Linked DNA regions of Homo sapiens: region 2 is linked to region 1. The links are contacts of gene promoters, found by promoter capture Hi-C in blood cells and fetal thymus (Javierre and others, 2016). All regions are on one chromosome and are shown on one strand. The core of a region is centred on a gene start or on the middle of the fragment in contact, and the rest is flanking DNA. Distances in the headings are between cores, read along the strand shown. Region 1 holds the start of ADRM1 (ADRM1 26S proteasome ubiquitin receptor). Region 2 overlaps CABLES2 (Cdk5 and Abl enzyme substrate 2).

Region 1 (4,256 bases), core at 990-3,489:
ACGCTTCCTGACCACAGGCCCGCCACCAGTTTTCACCTACAGATGATACTGGCTTATGGAAAATGATCTGTGTACCGGGAAATTCTTTGCAACACTGCCTGTAACAGCACAAAAAACGGCAACAAGCTCAATGGTCACTGACAGATGGCAGAATGAGCAGCGGCCTCTAGACCCAAAAGACGCTCTGCAGCTGTGGGTAAGAGAAACCCTGGGCACTGACACCCCTGGCCTCCAGGACACACTGCCAGGGAAGGGGCAGGACTGTGGAAAGTGTGAGCAGGATGCTTCGTTTCTGTGAGCACCAGCAGGGAAGCCACACAGGGGCCTCTGCCTCTGCTGTGGGGGCCTCAGTGACCCACGGCAAGGGGCAGAGAGAGGGCACTGGGCATCGTTAGAACCAGGGCCAGCATGTCTGTCTGCCTGGAAATTTCACACCGCAATCGGTTGCCCGCAGCCCAGCCTGGAGCCTCCGTACTCTGGGAGAGGACCTCGGCCCCAGGTAGCATGCACCGCAGCCCTGAGGTGGCATCTCAGGCCGTGTGGCCGGGTGTGGCCGGCGCCTGCTGGTTTATAAAAGCCAATTGCACCACACTGTAAGCAAGTTCCTAACCGAATCGCAGGGCAACAAAAAGGCACAACCCCAAGGCCTGCCCCATACCTGCATCCAGAAGAAAAGCCGCTTGGACCCTGCCTTGAACTTCAGCACGTAGACCCTCCCGCTGGGGCACTGCGGCACCCGCTTGAACTCACAGTCGTCAGGGAAGATGATCAAGTCCTGGCAAGCCAGGGGAAGAGAGAGTCAGTGGCGCAGATGGCATCACTGTGCCCAGTCTCAGGAGAGCGTACTGAGCCCTGGGTCTAACCGGGTGGGGTGCGCAAGGGGCAGCTAAGCCGCCAGACCCCTCGCTGGCAGGGTCTCCACAAGGCAGAGAAGCCAGGGTCAGAGACAGCCCATGAAAGGCAAGGCCGGGGGAGAGAGCAGGGAAAGGGGCCTTTCAGATGGCAACGGGGTTTCTGAGACGTGCTGGAAACAACATTCCCAGAGTAGTTAAAAAGTCAACGCTGAACTGCTCTCAAATGTAACAAAGAACAACTAAGAGTTTGAAAAACAAAGAAGACTGAGTGAAGCCGCCAGGCACAGAGCTCCAGGCTCTCCAGGGCCACACCTCCAACCCCAGGCACCTCACACGGACAGTTCAAGGCCAGGCACAGAGCTCCGGGCTCTCCAGGGCCACACCTCCAACCCAGGCACCTCACACGGACAGTTCAAGATACACAGTGGCCGAGATGCCCCTGTCACCGCGGAAACCAGGACGACCCATCAGCAGGGCAGTCGATGACGGCCCCACGAGCGGTCCCCAGATGCGGCCAAGCCCCCACCGCGAACTCCAAAGCGAGGACTCCGAGGGCCCGAGAAGTCGCCTGTCCTGCTGCTGCGGCTCAGGGACACTCACGTCTTCCACGTTCCCGGACGTCCTGTCCTTCCAGCAGAAGTGAATAAGCGAGTCGTCCGTCTGCTGAATGTACACCAGCCCTTTCCGCTTATCCGGAGTCACGGTGGTCCCCTTCAGGGACATCTTTCCCGCCCGAAACTCCACCAAGTACTTGTTGGAGGCGCCCCGAGAGCCTGGCACCAGGCTTGGAAAGAGCGCGCCTGAGGTCGTCATCCTGAAAGCGCGGAGAGGACGCTGAGACGCGGCGGTCACTGTCGCCTGCGGTCCGGCAAGCTCCCGCCCCCTGGGGTGTTTGCGAGCAGGGGGCCTGCGCCCAGAGCTGCCTAAGGCAGACTCAGACACGCCGGGCTGCCTTTCCGCGTTTGCCCCGCTCACGACGATCGCACCGCCCGCACTCGGCGCTGGGCCGGGGCAGCCCCGCCAAGCCTAGTGGGGCCGGCCCTAGGCTTGACGCCGTCTCCGCGGGGCACCAGCCTCGACGCGCCACCCCGGCGACCCGCTCCGCGGGGCAGACCCGCCCGAGCTCCCGCCGAGCCCCACGTTCAGAGCCGCAGGCGGAACCGGGGCGGCGCCCGAGACCCCAGAACCCCCGCCCGGCCCGGCCCCCGCAGGCCCCACCCGCCGCGCCGGCCACCTTCTCGTCTTGGCTGCCCCCGCCCCATCCTTGGTCCAGCAGCCCCTGCCCCCGCCTCCGGTCGCCCCCGGCCGCCCCAGGCCCGGCGACTCCCGCACCTGCCTCGCGCCCACACTCGTTCGAGAGGCGCCGTCCGGGCTCGCTCTTCCTCCTCGGCGCCTGCCGGGCCCCGCCGGAAACCCGCGTTCGGCCCGCCCCGCCTGCCGCTCTCGCCGCCGATTGAGCCCCGTAAGCCGCGCAGCCGGCTCTAACCTGCCAACGATTGGCGAGGGCGACCGTCCATCGCACTCGCTCCTCCCCGGTCCGCCCCCGCGCCGGCGGCTCTTTTCCGGCGGAAGCGCGGGCCGCAGGGCGCTTGGACCAGAGCGGCCCCTATTGTTGCTGTGTCATAGGGGAGCGGCGGCGGCCCCTAGAGGCGGCGCCAGGGACCACAGGCGGGTTTCAGAGGGGCGCTGGGGAACTGCTCAGGTGGGGCCGAGCCCACCCCTCGGCGTCGCCCGCCCGGGCGGGCAGAGCTGTCACTCGTGTGGCTGAGCCAGGGGTTAGGCGGAGGCCGAGGAGTGCGGTCCGGCTGTGGGCGGCGGGCACCAGGGCTACGCATAGAAGTGACCATGGGTTCAGCGCTTTGGGGACCCAGGCGGGAGCTGGAGTCCACGCGTCCGGGAGAGCAGGGGTCCGGGAGGGTAGAGCGAGGGTGAGAACCGTGATATGGTCTCAGCTGTATACATCTAGTCCCGCAGGGGTCCGGGAGGGCAGGGGTCAGGAAGGGGTGGGTCCGGGAGGAGAGGGGTCCCGAGAGGGGAGGGGCTCCTGGAGGGGAGGGATCTGGGAGGGGTGAGTCCGGGAGGGGAGGGGTTCCCGGAGGGGAGGGGGCCCGGGAGGGGAGAGGGTCCCGGAGGGGAGGGATCTGGGAGGGGTGAGTCCGGGAGGGAGGAGTCAGGGAAGGCCTGAGTCCCAGACGGGTAGGGTCCTGGAAGGGAGGGGTCCTGGAGGGCAGGGGCTCACCCTCTGGACGCCTGGATGGGAAAGGCCACAGGGTAAAAAGGCGGCAGTCGCCCGCCAGTGTTGTGTAACTTTGAGTCACTTTGACACAAACTAAAGCGAAGACAACAGATAGTGTTTGTGGCGCCCCAGCCGGCTGCTGAAGGGACACGTTCTTTGGGATTTGCCTACAGCGACGCCAGGCGGGGGCTCTTAGAGGGCTCAGGCGCGGTGGCTCACGCCTGTAAACCCAGAACTTTGGGAGGCCGAGGCGGGCGGATTACTTGAGGCCAGGAGTTCAAGACCAGCCTGGGCAACATGGTGAATGAAACCCCGACTCTACTAAAAATGCAAAAATTAGCCAGGTATGCTGGCACATGCCTGTAATTCCATCTACTCAGGAGGCTGATGCACGAGAATCGCCTGAACCCGGGAGGTGGAGGTTGCAGTGAGCCGAGATTGCACCACTGCACTCCAGCCTGGGCGACAGAGGAAGACTCCTTCTCAAAAAAAAAAAATAATAATAATAATAGTAATAAAATAGAGAGGTCAGGCGCTTCGTGAGAACCCTGAGGTGCAGTGGCCTCTGCACCCCAGTTAAGCAAGACTAGATGTTTGCAGCTGAGACTGTGCCAGGGTCCTCAGGTTCTCCTTTGCCCATCGCTCACTTCCTTCTTTCCTTCAGATACTTCACTCCCTTCGGGCGCTCCCCGGGGTCACCGTGTGCTTGGTGGCTCACCCTCAGAGTGGATGCACAGCTGTGTGCTTACGTGCTCTCTGAGGTCTTTAGGTGTGTGTTTTCACTCACCCTTGTTGGGAGATGCGTTGGTGTTGATGCTGGCAGCTCCAGTCCTTTCATTCTGCAGGGAGCCTACTACTCAGGCCTCCATTGTCTCGGTGGCAGAGCTTGTGCCAGTTATGTTTAGTTGCCAGCTTTTGACTGTCATAATGCTTCCATTTGAAACATTGATTGAGCTAAAGATTCACGTTTTTTGTTTTGGAAAATGTAGCCACTTTTCATTTTAAAATGTGTGTTAACAGGTAGTAAGTTTGTTATTGTTATTTTTATGTAGCTAAATAATTTTAAATGTCCTCTTAATTCCTAGTATGGTAAATGTCAATAGATAAAGCTCACATAAACAAAAGCTCTTTGGGGTCCTGTATAATTTTTAAGAATTTAAACGGTT
Region 2 (4,256 bases), core at 879-3,378, 91 kb before region 1:
TTCTGGAGCTCCCCCTGCCGGGCACCCTCCTTGTGGTGACTGTGGGTCTGGATGGACCCTTGCTCCCCATCAGTCCTGTACAGCTCCCAGCAGACGTGAGTGCCAGCCCTGGCTCCCGTCATCCAAGCCAGAGAGGGGGAGAAGTTCTCCCACTGTTGTCCCCCTGGTGAGACCCTGGGCCCAGGCAGGGCAGAGCCAGCGTCCAAGGGAGGAGAAACAGTGGCTTCTGCCTGTGCTCTCTGGGCCCGGGGCCCGGCTGCTCGAGCGCCTTGGAAGGGAGCCTCCAGGCCAGCCTCTCTGTGGACCTGGATCAGGCCCTTTCTGGTGGTGTTGAGCCCCGCTCCACCCAGGACCTCTGAGGTCTGGCTCGAGGCAGCCCTTGGCCTCGCCATCCTGTCCCCTCTGGCTGCCTCTCATCTCTGAATGAGCCAAGATCCTGAGGTGAGGCCGCCAGCCCTACCCGCACTGGGTCAGGAAGGAGCCTTCGGGATGTCACTGCTGTGCCTGCCCACGTGCAGCGGCGTCCCAGGGAGGGGAACCCCGGTAGCTCCTGTAGGGAATCCACTCTGAGAGCTTGCGGGGGCCAGGCTTAGTGACGGTGGCCACCCGGCCTCCTGGGCTCAAGTCCCCTTGGACAGCATGGGCAGTTTCCCAGCACCTGAATTTAGGCAGAAGGAATTTTCCATGGAAATGTCTGTAGCTCTGGAAGCAGCAGTACCTTGAGCCCCGCTCCCCGGCCCCGTCTCCCCTGACTCCGTCCCCCTGCAGGATCGTGCTCATCTGTGCCAAGCGGTCCCTGTGCGCGGCCTTCTCGGTCCTGCCCTATGGGGAAGGCCTGCGGATCAGGTGAGTACTCAGCGCTTGCCTCGCATGCGGTGTCCATCTAGGCAGAAGGCAAGGCCTGGTCTCGGCCAGGCCCAGGAGGCATCAGCGGGCACTGCGCCCCCAGGTGCGGCTGCCCCCGGGCTCATGCGAGGCTCAGCATGTCAACCTCCAGCAAAGCTCCTCAGGAACCCGGGGCCGTTTCGGGTCCTCACTCTCCAGAGGAGCCGGTTTCTGTTCACGCTGTCGATGTACAGGTGGCTGGGCTGTCCCACCTCCTGTGGACAGAGCCACTTGGTGCTGTGACCATCCAGGCAGTCGTATCCGTGCGTAATTCAGGGAAGGAGGAAACAGCTATGGGGTGGGGATTATGTGTGGCCCTGGCTTAAAAACAGTGGTGGAGAAACCTGACCAGGCGTGGGCACATGTACCTAGTGGGCTAGTGAAGGTGGGCGCCACCCCGGGGGCTCTACCAGCCAGTGTCTGTACTGGGGAAGCGGGGCTCAAAAACCCCTCCTTCCATGAAAGCACTCCTGACGTGCGCCTTCCTGGTCACACCAGTGCCGCCTTTCTTTCCCGAGGGGCTGTGCTGACATTGTTCCCGAGAGCACCTCGGGCCAGCGGACAGGTGGGCTGGGCTGCCAGAGCCTGAGTTCAGCGCAGACCACAGCCCCTTGCCTCTCCCATGTTTGCAGTGACCTGAGGGTGGACAGCCAGAAGCAGAGGCACCCGTCCGGCGGCGTCTCTGTGTCTTCCGAGATGGTCTTTGAGCTAGAAGGTGTGGAGCTAGGAGCAGACGGGAAGGTAAGAGCCTCTTCGCTGGTGGACACCCAGCGCCGTCAGGGCCAGGCAGGCGGGTGGGAGCAGTCCCACGTCAGTGCCCACGAGGCACACGTGAAGCTGTGCTTCACTCCACGTAAAACGCAAGGGTGGAGTGGATGCGGGCCCGTGCAGCCCTGAGAACGTGGCCCTGGAGCCCGTCGGACTCCCCCGCCTGGCCGTGCCTGAGGTCTGCGCCACTGCCCCACAGCCAGGTGCTCCTGGACACCCCCCTGCTGCAGGGTGGGGCTCGCCAACCCTCTGGCCTCTGTGCTGGTGGTCAGCAGTCTTCAGAGGCAGGGAGAACGTTACAGGCTACAGAACCCAGATAAAGCACAGTAGTGTTCCGGAATGTTCTAGCTATGTGAGGAGCAGCGTCTAGCTCAGACGCAGCCTCAACGGCTTGATCTGAGTTGTTCCCTTCATTTTCCATGCAGGGCTCCTGGCATGTGCGTCTGGGCTTCCTGCAGCGGGAGCTCACTTTGCCCTCTGGTCCCGGGAGGCAGAGCTGAGGCCAGATGCATTTGCTTTTCCAGGTCGTGTCTTATGCGAAGTTCCTGTATCCCACCAACGCCCTGGTCACACACAAGAGTGACAGCCATGGCCTGCTGCCCACACCTCGGCCCAGTGTCCCCCGGACTCTGCCAGGGTCAAGACATAAACCTGCCCCCACCAAGTCGGCACCAGCCAGCACAGAACTAGGTAGCCCACGTGCCTTAACCACGGCCTGGAACAGGGTGACCCGCGTGCCTTAACCACGGCCCAGGGACTGCAGCAGCATCAGCAAGCCCCTTTCAATCTGTAGCCCTCCGTGCAGATGGAGCCTGGGGAACAGGGTCAGGAGAGGAACAGCTCCACACTGAATCGCTATCCCTGGGCTTGGCCTGAGCCAGGCAGTGGGGAGGAGCTGCATCCACCCACAGATGACTCCAGGGAGGGCCCCTCCTCTCAGGACATCCTTTTCTTGCCCTAAGCCCTGGGCCCTTCAGGAGAGAACCATGGCCTAGAGCCCCTCCCCTGCTCGGCCTTGCCCCGCCATGGCGCTGGCCTGCCAGGCCTTGGGGCTAGATGGGTACTGCTCAAGACTCCTGGTGGGTCAGGGGTTGCCTCTCTTACAGGGAGTGACGTGGGGGACACCCTGGAGTACAACCCCAACCTCCTGGATGACCCGCAGTGGCCCTGCGGCAAGCACAAACGTGTCCTCATCTTTGCGTCGTACATGGTGAGTGCCCTCTCCCAGGGCCTGGGTGCAGGCAGCTGCACACCTGTCCTGGCTCGGGGCGTGTGGGGCAGGCTGTGGGCAAAGCTGCCCCAGGGGCGTGACGTGCCCCCATCCCGGATCGCAGCAGCACAGACAGTGGCGGTGTGCAGGGCAGGCCAGGGAGCAGTGCTGGCCACTCCAGCTGGGGTCCACCCTTGCCCTTCCGCCCTCGGCACCTGGCAACCTGGCTCTCCCCACACCAAGCAGGCATGGGCTCTGGAGTTCTCTCTCTTGAGCCATTTTGTTCTCAGAGATTCGGGGCCTCTCAAGCCACACCGTATGCATGTTTGCAAACCCAGGACAGTGAGAAATCCATCGTACCCAGCAGGCAGGACCCATGGACTGTGCGAGGGGCCGGCCCAACCCTGCCCACTCTCTGTTGCAGACCACAGTGATAGAATACGTGAAGCCCTCAGACCTCAAAAAGGACATGAACGAGACCTTCAGGGAGAAGTTCCCCCATGTCAAACTGACGCTGAGCAAAATCAGGAGGTGAGGACACCCTCTCAGACCATCTCATCGTCCTGGGAGGCCCTGCCAGCCTCTCCTCTCCAGTTTCTGGTAGATTCTCTCCAGCTTGACAAGTCTAGCCGCTGCCCATCCCCAACCCCCTCTCGCCATCCGACCAGGCCCCCAGCAGCAGCTCCCCCACCTCCACCGCCCGCCAAGCCAGGCCCCCCGTGGCCCCATCACACTGCATCCCCCCACACACCACTGGGTCTCTCACAGCCAGACCCTCGCAGCAGCCCAGGATCTTTTTAAAACTTGAGTGGGACAAGGCCTCTGTTGTGCCCGGCCCCTCCCAGTGTGTGCTATTTTGTGAGTAGATTCCGTGGCCCTTCCCCTGGCCCACAAAGCGCCCCCATCCAGGCATGCTGGGTGCTCGCCAAGGCCGTCCAGGTGTGCCTCTGCTCTCACATTGTGCCACGCTGATGACCCATGACCGGAGGAAAGCGAGCAGAAGGCGGCGGAACTGCTGGGCTCACGTCGGGCTCCTGGCCACGGCCCTGTACTGGGGGCCTGCCCTGCCGGCCTCTGCCCCAGTGTTCCAGAGGGCAGCTCACTCAATACCCTGGCACCTCCCTTCAAGGCTCTTCCTAAAACCACCCCTCATCAGAGACCACTGCCCCCCACCGAGAGCAGAGCCTGTCCTCTGTGGCTCCACCCACCAGGCACAGGTGGGAGCTGCCATGGGTGCCCACCCACGGGACGGGGGAAGCCAAAACCCAGCCTGCCGGTCCCTGCCCATGCGCCCTGCCCTGGGCGTTATACATGGTACGGCGGAGGGTACCATCCCCTGAAGGATGCGGTGGTGTTTCTTGCGGCCCAAAGCTACATCGCTCCAGCCTCGGTT

Evidence for each region. The method cuts DNA at HindIII sites, captures the fragments that hold promoters and counts their contacts. A CHiCAGO score of 5 or more calls a contact.
Region 2: a contact is called between a fragment that was not itself captured here and the fragment with the promoter of ADRM1 in region 1, in 3 of 17 cell types (total B cells, endothelial precursors and naive B cells). The highest score is 6.7, in total B cells.

Annotation. Positions count from the first base shown.
Region 1 is chr20:62,300,980-62,305,235 of GRCh38, reverse strand. ADRM1 (ADRM1 26S proteasome ubiquitin receptor) reads right to left here and starts at 2,239. Exons shown (of 10, transcript NM_007002.4): 1 at 2,187-2,239; 2 at 1,455-1,668; 3 at 659-775. The coding sequence starts at 1,667. RefSeq lists silencers at 2,130-2,589, 2,610-2,729. The HindIII fragment of the contact is 19,122 bases long and covers 1-4,256 here.
Region 2 is chr20:62,391,527-62,395,782 of GRCh38, reverse strand. It overlaps CABLES2 (Cdk5 and Abl enzyme substrate 2), which reads left to right. Exons shown (of 10, transcript NM_031215.3): 4 at 769-846; 5 at 1,518-1,626; 6 at 2,178-2,343; 7 at 2,760-2,863; 8 at 3,288-3,394. Among named protein-coding and RNA genes, the nearest start is that of RPS21, 6.6 kb to the right of the region's middle. RefSeq lists enhancers at 1,653-2,177, 2,394-2,894, 2,895-3,395. The HindIII fragment of the contact is 8,008 bases long and covers 1-4,256 here.